Regions from separate parts of the Homo sapiens genome. Here region 2 is linked to region 1. Evidence: promoter capture Hi-C in 16 types of primary human blood cells and fetal thymus (Javierre and others, 2016). All regions are on one chromosome and are shown on one strand. The core of a region is centred on a gene start or on the middle of the fragment in contact, and the rest is flanking DNA. Distances in the headings are between cores, read along the strand shown.

What was found. Contacts are between HindIII fragments. The CHiCAGO score rates a contact against its expected background, and 5 or more counts as called.
Region 2: a fragment that was not itself captured here is called in contact with the fragment with the promoter of TCP1 in region 1 in 1 of 17 cell types (neutrophils); the score reaches 5.7 in neutrophils.

Annotation. Positions count from the first base shown.
Region 1 is chr6:159,788,348-159,795,135 of GRCh38, reverse strand. TCP1 (t-complex 1) reads left to right here and starts at 5,534. Exons shown (of 12, transcript NM_030752.3): 1 at 5,534-5,731. The coding sequence starts at 5,668. MRPL18 (mitochondrial ribosomal protein L18) reads right to left here and starts at 4,669. Exons shown (of 4, transcript NM_014161.5): 1 at 4,497-4,669; 2 at 4,010-4,196. The coding sequence starts at 4,548. RefSeq lists enhancers at 1-169, 4,482-4,541, 4,572-4,751, 5,008-5,671, 5,672-6,336. The HindIII fragment of the contact is 4,019 bases long and covers 3,553-6,788 here.
Region 2 is chr6:158,632,034-158,638,159 of GRCh38, reverse strand. DYNLT1 (dynein light chain Tctex-type 1) reads left to right here. Exons shown (of 5, transcript NM_006519.4): 3 at 266-389; 4 at 955-1,032; 5 at 1,263-1,686. The coding sequence ends at 1,333. TMEM181 (transmembrane protein 181) reads right to left here. Exons shown (of 17, transcript NM_001376852.1): 17 at 2,731-6,126. Among named protein-coding and RNA genes, the nearest start is that of DYNLT1, 9.6 kb to the left of the region's middle. RefSeq lists a silencer at 5,776-5,937. The HindIII fragment of the contact is 4,116 bases long and covers 1-3,427 here.

The sequences.
Region 1 (6,788 bases), core at 4,285-6,784:
TTAGGGAAAAACCGCCTTAGGGCTGGAGGTGGGACATGCGGGCAGCAATACTGCTTTGTAAAGCATTGAGATGTTTATGTGTATGCATATCTAAAAGCACAGCACTTGATTCTTTACTTTGTCTATGATGCAAAGACCTTTGTTCACATGTTTGTCTGCTAATCCTCTCCCCACTATTGTCTTGTGACCCTGACACATCCCCCTCTCAGAGAAACACCCACGAATGATCAATAAATACTAAGGGAACTCAGAGGCTGGCGGGATCCTCCATATGCTGAACGCTGGTTCCCTGGGTCCCCTTATTTCTTTCTCTATACTTTGTGTCTTTTTCTTTTCCAAGTCTCTCGTTCCACCTAACAAGAAACACCCACAGGTGAGGAGGGGCAACCCACCCCTTCATAACTTAATAGGCAAAGCATTATCCAAACAGACTGTTCACAGAAAAGAAAAATATTAATGACTCAAATTCACAAAAATATGCTCAATCTCACTAACAAAATGCATGGACAAGACAATTCGATGCAACACTGTAATCATAAAAGATAATCACCCTCTAGGAGCGAGTTAAGTAAAATCCATGCAATAGTATTCCATACAGTTACTGAAATGAATGAAATAATGCTTTATAATGATGAAGATAATAGTTAACATTTACTGAGCACTTAGTATATGCCAGGCCTGTCTTAACGGTTTATAGATAAAGCTTATGTCTCAATTCTATTATTTTTTCTATATTTTTTTTTAGCTGCAGAAACTAACACAGAAAGGTTAAGTAACTTGAAAAAGATTAAAACTAGTAAGTAATGGAGCCATGGTTTAAGTCCCAGTGTCTGGCTCCAGAGTCAATGCTCTTAACTACCATGAAGAATCTCCAAGATGTATTTTTAAGTGCGTGCTTGGGGTGGTTGAGGGTGGTGGTGAAGAAAGATGCGGAAGTGTTTATCGTATGCTAAGATTTATTGTTTTTAACAGTTTTTGCTTATATGCATAGACAATCTTTAGAAGGACACACAAGAAACTGTACTCCCTTTGGATTTTATAACATACGTATATGTTACCCTTTAAAAAGTCAAGTTTAAGTTAAAGAAAACACACCCAAATCATTAGATTCTCACTAGGATTCTCAATGTGAAATAGAAGAGGCATTAGATTTGGAAATATGGAGTCTACTCCTGGTTTTCCTGGTGGCTCTAGTAAAAAATCACAATCTCTTTTTTTTTTTTTGAGACGGAGTCTCAGTCTGTTGCCCAGGCTGGAGTGCAGTGGCGCGATCTCGGCTCACTGCAAGCTCCGCCTCCCAGGTTCACGCCACTCTCCTGTCTCAGCCTCCCTAGTAGCTGGGACTACAGGTGCCTGCCACCACGCCTGGCTAATTTTTTTGTGTATTTTTAGTAGAGACGGGGTTTCACCGTGTTAGCCAGGATGGTCTTGATCTCCTGACCTCGTGATCCGCCCGCCTCGACCTCCCAAAGTGCTGGGATTACAAACGTGAGCCACCGCGCCCGGCCAAAAATCACAATCTGTTAAACCAGGAGTCAACAATCTTTTTCCACAAAGTGCCAGATAGTAAATATTTTAGGCTTTCTAGGTCCAATAGCTTCTGTTGAAACTGTTCGACTCAGCCATTGTAGTGCTAGAACAGCCAGGTGATGCGTAAACAAATGAGAGTAGGTACAGCTAGGTTCTAAGAACCTGGGCAACGAAATTTGATTTTCATTTAATTTTCCCAAGCCACAAAATATTCTTTTGATTTTTTTTTTAACTTAAAAAAAGTAAAAACAAGTTTTTAGCTCACAATCTACCTTTGGCCCACGGGCCGTAGTTTGCTGACACTTGAACCATTTGTTCAATGAAGGGCCCGATTCATTATGTCAAAGGTCATTTCCTACTATAATATTCTGAAATTCTCTACTTTTAATATTGCGAGTAAGGCAGACAGAGAAAAAATGAGGAAATACATCTTTAGTTATTTTTAATGATCCAAATATTAAATCAAAGTAATGCGTTGGGGCCGAGTGCAGTGGCTCACGTCTGTAATCCCAGCACCTTGGGAGGCTGAATCAGGCAGATCTCTCGAGCTCAAGAGCTCGAGACCAGCCTGGGCAGCAGCAAAACCCCATCTCTACAAAAAATACCAGAAAAAAAAAAAAAGAAAAAGAAAAAAATTAGCCGGCCATGGTAGTGTGTGCCTGCAGTCCCAGATGCTCAGGAAGCTGAGATGGGAGAATCGTTTGAGCCTGGGAGGCAGAGGTTGCAGCCAGCTGATACTGTACCACTGCACTCCAGCCTGGGTGATAGAGCCAGAGCTTGTCTCAAACAAAACAAAACAAATTAGCTGGGAGTAATGGCATGCGCCTCTAGTCCCAGCCACTCAGGAGGCTGAGGTGGGAAGATTGCTGGAGCCCAGGGAAGTCAAGGATGCAGTAAGCAGATATCATACCACTGCATTCTAGCCTGGGCAACAGACCCAGACCCTGTCTCAAAAACAAAGAAAAAAGAAAGTAATAGGTTGGGTGTTTCAAAAGATTTTTAGCCTTAAGATCCAGATTATTTAAAAAGTGAACTGCCTACTCCCTTTCTTGGACTCCCTCCTCTATGAGTAAAAATGTATTACAGCAACTGTAACACATCATTATCCCCATTCCACTTTCCACTATGAAACTTAAGACTTTTGATGACAGGGATAACATCTACTTTATCTTTGTAACTCCTGCCTCTAACGCAATGCCTAGCAAGTGATACAGGTATGATGCTTGTTCAATAAATAAATAATACATCACACAGTAATGATTTCCAATTTACTCTTACAACTTTACATAGTACTTAAGAAGTCCTTAAGAAATTCTAAAAAATCCTCACCAAGCAGATAAGCAGCAGATAAACCTGATAAACACTTACATGCTGTAGTATAGTGGTAATAACCTAGCGTCCTGGCTCTGAGGTCAGTTAAAACATATGTAAATCTTAGCTCTGGCACTTACTAATCATGTCTCCCTAAACCTCAATTTCTTTGATCCTGTAAAATGGGGGAAATTATAACTGCTTCATGATGTAATTTTAAGGATTAAATGAGAAAAAACATATAAAGCAAGTAGCATAATTCCTGGCAAATGTAAGTGTTCATTAAACAACCACCTTTATAACAAAGTATCTCAAGTCATACTAGACTCCTAACTGGTCTTTCTTCAAGTCCTGCTCCCTCAAAAATTTAATCTTCCAAAAAGCAGCTAAAATGATTTTTTTTTTTTTGAGACAGAATTTTGCTCTGTCGCCCAGGCGCTCAGCTCACTGCAACCTCCGCCTCCTGGGTTCAAGTGATTCTCGTGCCTCAGCCACTGGAGTAGCTGGGATTACAGGCGTGCACCACCACGCCCCTCTAATTTTTATATTTTTAGTAGAGACGGGGTTTCACCATGTTGGCCAGGTTGGTCTCAAACTCCTGACCTCAGATGATCCGGCTTCTTCGGCTGGCTCCCTAAAGTGCTGGGATTACAGGCATGAGACAATGCGCCCAGCCAGAATGATCTTGAAAAACCAATTCGGGCTCAAGCTTTAAATCCTCTCGTAGTTTCCCACTATAATGAAAAGAAAGTCTAAAGTGCTCATCTTGACTTACAAAGCTAATCATCTGTCGCCTCCTTACCCCTCCATGTTCATCTTGGGCCATTCATCCTCTGCCCATTGAGCTTCAGATCCACAAGCCCTTCAGTTCCTCACCCCAGCAGTTTCCTTTGCTAGGACTGCTCTTTCTGGCAGATGACTAGGCTTCTTCCTCTTTCAGATCTCACCTTCTTAAATGTCACCTCAGACAGGCAGGTATCCTGTCCGCTACTGTAACATCCTCTTTAAATAGCCCCCATCACACCTATTTGTTGTTTGTTCCAGCCCCTCCGCGAACCCTGCCTCTACCCGCCGCATGGCAGCTACCTGGGAGAGTGCCTGGAGTTGAATGAATGAAAATAGTCTGTAGGGTGCACTGCCCTTGTCAATCACAAGCAGATTTAATTACCTGTGCCAGAACTCACGGGAGGGAAACACCGTCCGCCAGCCCCGCTCTTTCCTGGCTACAGATAAAAGCTCCAGGTTCCGGGGGTTCCGGTTGGTGAATTCTGGGGCGACAGCTTCATTTTCCACAGGGTCCACTTCAGGTTTCGCTGCCGGCTCGGAGCTGGTTGACAGGGCTGCGAACCTGCACCCTGGGCAACGGGAAAAACCGCACAGGGCTTAAAAATGACGGATATGGACAGCGCACGAACCCGCTCTAACGTCTATCCGCTTTTACACCCCCAATCTTTAGGCCCGAGGGGACGAAAAATACGTATGCCCACAGGGTGGAGTCAGCACTGACCCCGTCCTTAACTTCCTACTGTGGTCTTCGCAGTGCCGCGAGCTCTATTTCGATCCGGCACGTCGAATACAAAATAGAACCCGCACGTTCCAATGTACTGTGCAAGCCCAGGCGAGTGAGCTGGGAGAAGGGGGGCAAGACTAATTACCAGGGTTCCTGCAAACCGAGAACAACCCCCAAAACCGCGACCGAAGCGCCATCGCTGAGACGATCTCGGAAAAGCCTCGCCTCTTTTTCCTCACGGACGACTCAGTCGCTCGCCAGGAGCAGCCATATAAAGTCAGGGACAAGCCTTTGGCTGCTGTAGATCCCCAAACTCTCCACGCCAGACGCCACCGACCCGGAAGTAGCAAGTCCCCTGCCACTGAGTGGCCGAGAAGGCGATCTGTTATCCTTCATCGCCAATCATCGCTCACGTCGAGGGGCACGCAGGCCCTGGAGCCCACCAACCACCTCGTAGCTACGCCCAAGACCACGCTTGTTGCTTAAGTCCGGGGTCAAAGGCACACACCCCACAAAACCATGTTTGGGTTTTCTACTCGGAGAGCTTGGGCGGTCATCGACTGGTCCACACACACCCCACCTGGGCACCGCGTAGGAATAAGGCAGGGCAAGATGCAGTTTTCTCCTTAAAAAGGGTGGTTGTCTTCCTCGAACCAAAAATTTTCCCGTATGGCCCGCTGGAAAAACTGCCCCGTCCCACCCAGGTTCGCGCCCTTAAACTTACACTCCTGAGGCCTGGAGCAAAGCCGGCCGATCTGCCTCACGCTCCCCGAGCAGGGACAAGGAAAAGACACTAAACCTAAAACGCACGACTCGCTCAGAACCCCAACTCTAACTTGGAGAAGGGCCCGCCCCTCCAGTTACACCCCAGCTCCAAGCTCCACCCTTCTTACAACCTTTTCTAGAAGGCACTAGAATGGCCCACTGCGTCTGCGCAACATCGTTTGAGGCGAAGGTTCAACCTCTTCCCAGCGGTCCAACATCCGACTTCCGTTCTCCGCTTTCGCGCCCTTCCCATCGGCTATCTAATTGGACAAAAATGCCGACCCCGCCCCTTCCCCGGAGCCTCACTTCCGTCACAGTCCTGTTTCTCTCCCTGTTGTCCCTGCCTCTTTTTCCTTCCCGCCGTGCCCCGCGGCCGGGCCGGGGCAGCCGGGAAGCGGGTGGGGTGGTGTGTTACCCAGTAGCTCCTGGGACATCGCTCGGGTACGCTCCACGCCGTCGCAGCCACTGCTGTGGTCGCCGGTCGGCCGAGGGGCCGCGATACTGGTTGCCCGCGGTGTAAGCAGAATTCGACGTGTATCGCTGCCGTCAAGATGGAGGGGCCTTTGTCCGTGTTCGGTGACCGCAGCACTGGGGAAACGATCCGCTCCCAAAACGGTAAGGGCGGGCCGGGCCTGGGTCGGGTTTGCGGCCGGGGAGGGCCGAGTCCCACCGCGACCGGACCCCGGCTGCCCTCGTTTCTCTCCTTTACCTCCGCAGAAAGGGCCTCGGGGCCCCGCAGCCGGACCCAGCCCACCCGCCGTTCTCTGGGGCAGGGCGCTGTGGCCCCACTTTTCCCACAGCGAGGAGGAGCCCCGCCGCGCGCGGCAGGGTTTTGAGACCGGCAACGCGTGGATGTGGTGTCCGGGGCGGCGTTGGAAACGCGCCCTCCGCGGGAAAGCGGGCCTCCCGGGCTCGCACGTGCGGGCCACGCCTCGCACCCCCTTTTGTTTCAGGGCGACCCCCTGAGTGTCCATGTTAAACGCCAGGTTTTATTTTAGGACCATTTACCAGAAAAAGAGTAGGTCCATCCGCGCGCCCTCGGATGAGCCCGGTGCCCTGTCCGCCCGCAGCTGCAGTCGAGGTCGGGCGTCCGGCGTCCAGCCGTATCCGGGTTGACAGCTTCTTACAGTAGAGTTAGCCCAGGAAACGCCACTCGAGTGCATTGACCCCAGGAGACGGCAGCGCTAACTTAGCAGAGCGTTTGCTGTCAGGCCTTTGGATACCTACAGAGCTTACTGTTTCTTGATAGATTCCTAATTTTTTTCGTAAACAAATCTGAAAGTCACCACCTTCCCCGTTGACTACCGATTTCTCTCCTCACAGATAAAGAGAGTTTTAATGAGCAAAAAACTTGCAGAATCTGAAGGAAAAGGCTGGTATAGCTGTACGAAGTGGCAGAGCATGAAATTGGTGGTTATTACTTTTTTTTTTTTTCCCCGCCATCAGATTCCACCCCGCATCAAAGCTGTGCCAAATAGGCTCGCTTTGTTTAGGGACAGGGTCCCACCTGTCGCCCAGACGAGAGTGCCATCATAGCTCACTGCATTCTCCAAGCACAGGTCCGCGCCGCCGCATCCGGCTTTGTTTTTATTTTTTGTAGAAATGGGTTTCGCTATGTTGCCCAAAGGGGTCTCAAACTCCTGGCATCAAGCGATCCTCCTGCCTCGGCCTC
Region 2 (6,126 bases), core at 120-2,619, 1.2 Mb after region 1:
AAAAAATGTATTAATAGTAGTGAACATGAAATGTGATTATTAGGTCAAAATGTGTAAATAATTTGACAGACTATGAATTTTTGAAGCAAATTTCAAACTTATTTAAATGAAATATAATGCTATTAAAAGTATATTTGCAAAGGCACCCTCATGATTAAAAATAAACTTTTCATAAATCACTTCTTGGGGTGCCGTCAGTTCCTGATTGAAAGGTGGTGTGGGTGCATTTGGTTAACCGGGACGCGCTTTGTGCTTTGTTTTCTAGGCTATAGAAAGCGCAATTGGTGGTAACGCTTATCAACACAGCAAAGTGAACCAGTGGACCACAAATGTAGTAGAACAAACTTTAAGCCAACTCACCAAGCTGGGAAAACCATTTAAATACATCGGTAATGGAGTCTTGTTTCTTTTATATTTGCGGGATGGTTTTTTAACACTGATCAGAGGGGCATCCAGTACCAGAAACAACAGCTAACGTGGCTCAACTCAAGGAAGGCTCCTGGTGGGAGTCGGTCGTGTGTGTAGTATACGTTAGCGTACGCTTGACCATTTGGCTGCTGGTACAATTGCAGATCGTATGTGAAGCGGGATCTTACAGGAGGTCCCATCAGATGCTTTTAGAACAAGTGAAGCATAGAGGAAGTGTGGACAGCCCCCAGCTGACAGTGGCTCAACTTAGAATTTTTCAACTTTGATGGATTTACCAGGGTATTAAGTGCATTTGCAACTTACATTTTCATATATTGTTGATTTATGATGGGTTTATGGGATGTTGTAAGTCAAGGAGCACCTATAATTTGTCAATATAGTGAGACAAGGCAATCTGTCCCTATAATTTTTATCGAGAACATCAACCACGTGGAGCTACATACATTGTACGTTTGCTAAAAGTGGACAGAATGACATTTGTGTTACCCAGTAGACTTCTCTAACAAAAATTTGTTTTAACTTAAGTGACCTGTGTAATTATGCAGAAGAATGGAGCTGGATTACACACAGCAAGTTCCTGCTTCTGGGACAGCTCTACTGACGGTATGATTTTCATTCATGTTTGTGAAGTTTTGTTGTGTGAAATATATGACTGGAAGTTTCCTATCTTTGAATGCAATGCATGTTTATCACCTTTTAAAACATTTAATAATAGACTTGCCAAGGTTCTTTGTGTAGCATAGAGATGGGTACTTGAATGTTGGCCTTATTGTGAGTAAAACGTCGTCCCCCAGCTTTCCCTGCCGTAAATGCTGCTCTCTTCCCTCCCGCAGGGAGCTGCACTGTGCGATGGGAGAATAAGACCATGTACTGCATCGTCAGTGCCTTCGGACTGTCTATTTGACCTGCAGTCCAGCCTATGGCCTTTCTCCTTTTGTCTCTAGTTCATCCTCTAACCACCAGCCATGAATTCAGTGAACTCTTTTCTCATTCTCTTTGTTTTGTGGCACTTTCACAATGTAGAGGAAAAAACCAAATGACCGCACTGTGATGTGAATGGCACCGAAGTCAGATGAGTATCCCTGTAGGTCACCTGCAGCCTGCGTTGCCACTTGTCTTAACTCTGAATATTTCATTTCAAAGGTGCTAAAATCTGAAATCTGCTAGTGTGAAACTTGCTCTACTCTCTGAAATGATTCAAATACACTAATTTTCCATACTTTATACTTTTGTTAGAATAAATTATTCAAATCTAAAGTCTGTTGTGTTCTTCATAGTCTGCATAGTATCATAAACGATTTCTTCATAGTGAGTGGCTACAGAATCTATACAACCAGACCAGGCGCAGTGGCTCACACCTGTAATCCCACCACTTTGGGAGGCTGAGGCAGGCGGATCATGAGGTCAGGAGATCAAGACCATCCTGTCTAACACGGTGAAACCCCGTCTCTACTAAAAATACCAAAAATTAGCCAGGTGTGGTGGCGGGCGCCTGTAGTCCCAGCTACTCGGGAGGCTGAGGCAGGAGAGTGGCATGAACCCAGGAGGCAGAGGTTGTAGTGAGCCAAGATCGTGAGCCAAGTTCCCGCCACTGCACTCCAGCCTGGGTGACAAGAGCAAGAGTCCGCCTCAAAAAAAAAAAAAAAAAAAAAAAAAAAAAATATATATATATATATATACAACCAAAAAAAAAAAAGTTCTGCTGTGGTCCTCTCCATGATGTACTCATTTTACCCGTGGGACCAGGATCCTGACGGCTCTGCTGGGTTCTGGTTAGATTCCTACCCCTCGGCATCACACCTCCCATTCTTAAGCCCTCCTCTTCTAGAGGTGAAGGGGTGGGAGGTGGGCAAACCAATTTCTATTCTCTTAGCCAGAGAGCTCTAACTCACACTTGGCCCAAAGCTGTAACACCTTAACTGTTAATCCTGTGTTCTCTGTAGGGCTCACAAATTGTCTTAGTACTTCAGAGCTTACAAAATGGTTTTCACAATCATTCATTCTGTGTCTTCAACAATTTGCAGTCATTTAAAAATCTCAGAAAATGTGTTTGGAGGTTATCTGATTGGTTTAAAGTCACACATCCAAGTTGGGAGCTGGGCCCAAACCCACGCCTTGTCTCCATCTTGAGTGCTCTTCCCCAGGCCACATTAGACATGGCAATAAAGATACCTCCGTGCCTGCCTGCTGAAATGGAAAAGCCCTGCCGTTGTCTCCAAAGCCGCTTTATTAAAGCATTTATGTCTGCAAGGCCAAATTAACTCCACACACAAAGAGCAAACAAATCAAGACACATAGAAGTGAATATTAAAAATTTATTAACATTTCCCAGAAAGGTAGTGTCAGAATTAAGCCATTCGCAAAAGACGAATTTGCCATAAACAAACATTCACTTTTGCCTGATGACAGCAACACTGTGATGGGGTGGCACTGTGCCCCACGGACAGGTCCACAACTGAACACATGGCTCTATCTCTCCTTTTGGGCTTAAAGTTTAGTGTTATTTTATTTTACAAATATTTACAGTCATTTTGTAAAAAGGCAGTTTTTAGTAGCAGAAAATTCTTCTGTTTTATAGTATGGTATCACAGTTACTAGCGTATCTCCAATGTCAAACCAAGATAAACAGCATCACAAGATGTCACAGACTAATACAACTTCCCTTTGGCCAGGGGAAAAGATCTGTATCTTTTTTTTTTTTTCTTCAAAAGTCTAACCTCTAAGGCAACCGGTTTCTAAAACCCTCAAAATACACAAATACACTTTCATGTTTTAAGTCTCATCTTCACTAAATGTTCAGACACATCCGTTTTAATTATCCCTTTTATGAGGGTCTGTGTTTTTCCTGTGATAAAGGATTCAGGAAATAATTTACCACATTATAATCTATTTAACATAACTACCCTCAGTAAATAGTTCATAAAATACTTGAGGCTGGTGACATTTGTCTTGTAACCTGCTCATTTAGTGGGTTGGGTTTACAAAATGTATCTAAGCTTTTATTGCAATCTGCAATTATGTACATTAACAACCTTACAAACCTTGAACATAGTATATATATCCCCTTCTCTAGCCTTTCAAATGGGGCTTAAGAGAGAGAAAATGGCACCACTTCACTGCTATAATGATTTAATAATAAATCAAGCAGACTTATCATCCACATGGATAACGAAGCTCTCCCTAGGGAAACTGAAATACCTCTGGTCATCTTCCAGGTTCTCCTAGACTGGACCAGTATTTAAAAAATCCCAAAGATGATGTTACTCAAGCCATTACCATGAAGGAACTAAAGTCAGCCCTTTAAGTTCGCAAAACTTTAACATAACTACCCTCAGTAAATAATTTATTTTTTCTTCAACAATTTTCTTGCTACTGTCAAAAGTTTCTGGCAGACTTTAGTGTTTTAACCTGATACCTATGGTACATATTCTACATGCCAAGTGCTAGAGAGTTTAAGCAAAATTTTACATGGGGTATGTAATATGTCGGTATTTATGATATACCAGGGAAGACAAGTTGAAAATACATGACTTAGTAAGAACGATTTTCCCCTTAAGTACTTTCTAACTTTTTTTCTTATTTCCCACTTAGTTACAAAAAGTAAATAAATAATCCTATATTTTTCATTTCATTGATGCATGAAGACTCAATGTATGAAGATAATAGTCATCAGTTTATAATTACACTATAGGACAAAGTTTTAAAAAGTTCTAGTGTGTGTATGGCTAAATGCCTCAAATATTTTACATTTACTGATAAATAACAGCATTCCAAAATCATGGACAATTATGATTAAAAGTTGTAAACCATATCACAGAATATGTTAATCAGCACATCTTCATCAGTTTACATAAAGTTATAGTAGTCTTATTAGAAGTTGTAAAATTTGGTAACAGAAAATTTTTTTCAATACACAGAATAAAAAAAACATCATTGCAAATTTAAAAATCATGTAAACTTGAATTACCCTTGCAGTAAGTTGTCTTAAACATTCATATTTACAAGGTTTTTAAAACAAATGTGAATAGAATCCATATTAAAAGTACATTATCATTAAAGTTTAAATTAAAAGGAAAGATACAAAGGAAAGTCATAACAAATAGTTTCTCATGAACATCTCTAAGGTCCTACCTAGCACTACTTAACGTGGATGATAACGTGAAGCTCTGCATGGTAATCTGAGAGTCAATGCATAGATGAAGAAAAAAAGTAGGTACTGCTTGCGTTGCGGAACTATCATCTTCTGGACCTCAATTGCCAAGACGGCATCAGTCAGGTTGCCCACAGTTACCAGATGTTAACAGAAGTGTGACTGTAGAGGTCAAGAGGAAAGCACGGGAGACGTCCACATGAGACTCTATATGGAGTCCCTGACTGAAAGGAACGGGGAAGCTCCAGGGCCTTCTATGATGCCACAGATTCAGCAGTGCCAAGGACTTTACAGAACAGGTCGTCCCTACCTGACCGCCATGTGGACACATGGAGGACAGGGAACCCCTTCCGGAAGCACGAGTTGCCTTCTACCCAAATACGTTTTCCATGAACCATTTAAAACATTTTACTTGCTTTTCATTTTGCTTCCAAATATGAGTTTTAAAAACTTTTGGCCAATAAATAATCTAAAATATTCTATCAATCTTTCATGTAGCTTTATTTATTTATGACACGGGTTCTCGCTCTGACACCCAGGCTGGAGTGCAGTGGTGCAATCATGGCTCACTGCAGCCTTGACCTCCAGGGCTCAAGCAATCCTCCCACCTCAGCCTCCTGAGTAGCTGGGACTATGGGCATGCCCCAGCATGCCCAGCCAACTTTCTAAATGTTTTATAGAGACGGGGTCTCCCTGTGTTGCCCAGGCTGGTCTCAAACTCCTGGGCTCAAGTGATCCTCCCACCTTGGCCTCCCAAAGTGTTGAGATTACAGATGTGAGCCACTGCACCTGGCCCCTCATTTAGCTTTTACTTACATAAATAAATAAAGCTCTATGGCATTTCATATTCAACAGAATTGCAGAAACTGCTATTTACTGGAATGGTAAGGGTTCCTCTCCTGCCCATACCTCCCACAGGCAAATCCATTTAATCATGTGTGTACACACAGGCCCCTGAAAAGCACCATGGCAGTAAGACCTTCCCCACATGAGTTGGTAACCTGTAAATTATCTTAGCCTTTCCTTATTCAACTTATCAAACCCTCCTCAGAACTCCACACTATTACTTCCCCTTTGGTGACGTGAAGGGTTGGAACCCCAGCATCTCCCATTCCCGATGAGTCATAACTCACACACTGCACAAAACGCAGTCCACATAACTGACCAATCACTTCAGCCACCTGGTTACCCAGGGCACTGGCCACTCAACGAGGAAGGACTGCCCTGAAGCAGCCACAGATAAGGCTTCCCTTTGAGTTTAAAGGGTCACAAAACAGTACCATGGAAAAGGGAAGAAAGAGGGTGATGCTGTCACGCTGAGGACCTAGTCACAGGCTGCCCGTGAACTTGGAATCAGTGAATGATTACAGGAAAAAAAAGTACATAATTCACTGTACTAAAAACGTGAAATTTCCTCATCACTGAAAACACGCTCATCTGAAATCTCTGTAAAAAAGGATTTGGCTGTTGAAACTTGTTATCAATGCCTCTTCTCGTAGCCACCATGACAATAAATTTGGCTAAACATTTAAATTTACCCTCAGTTT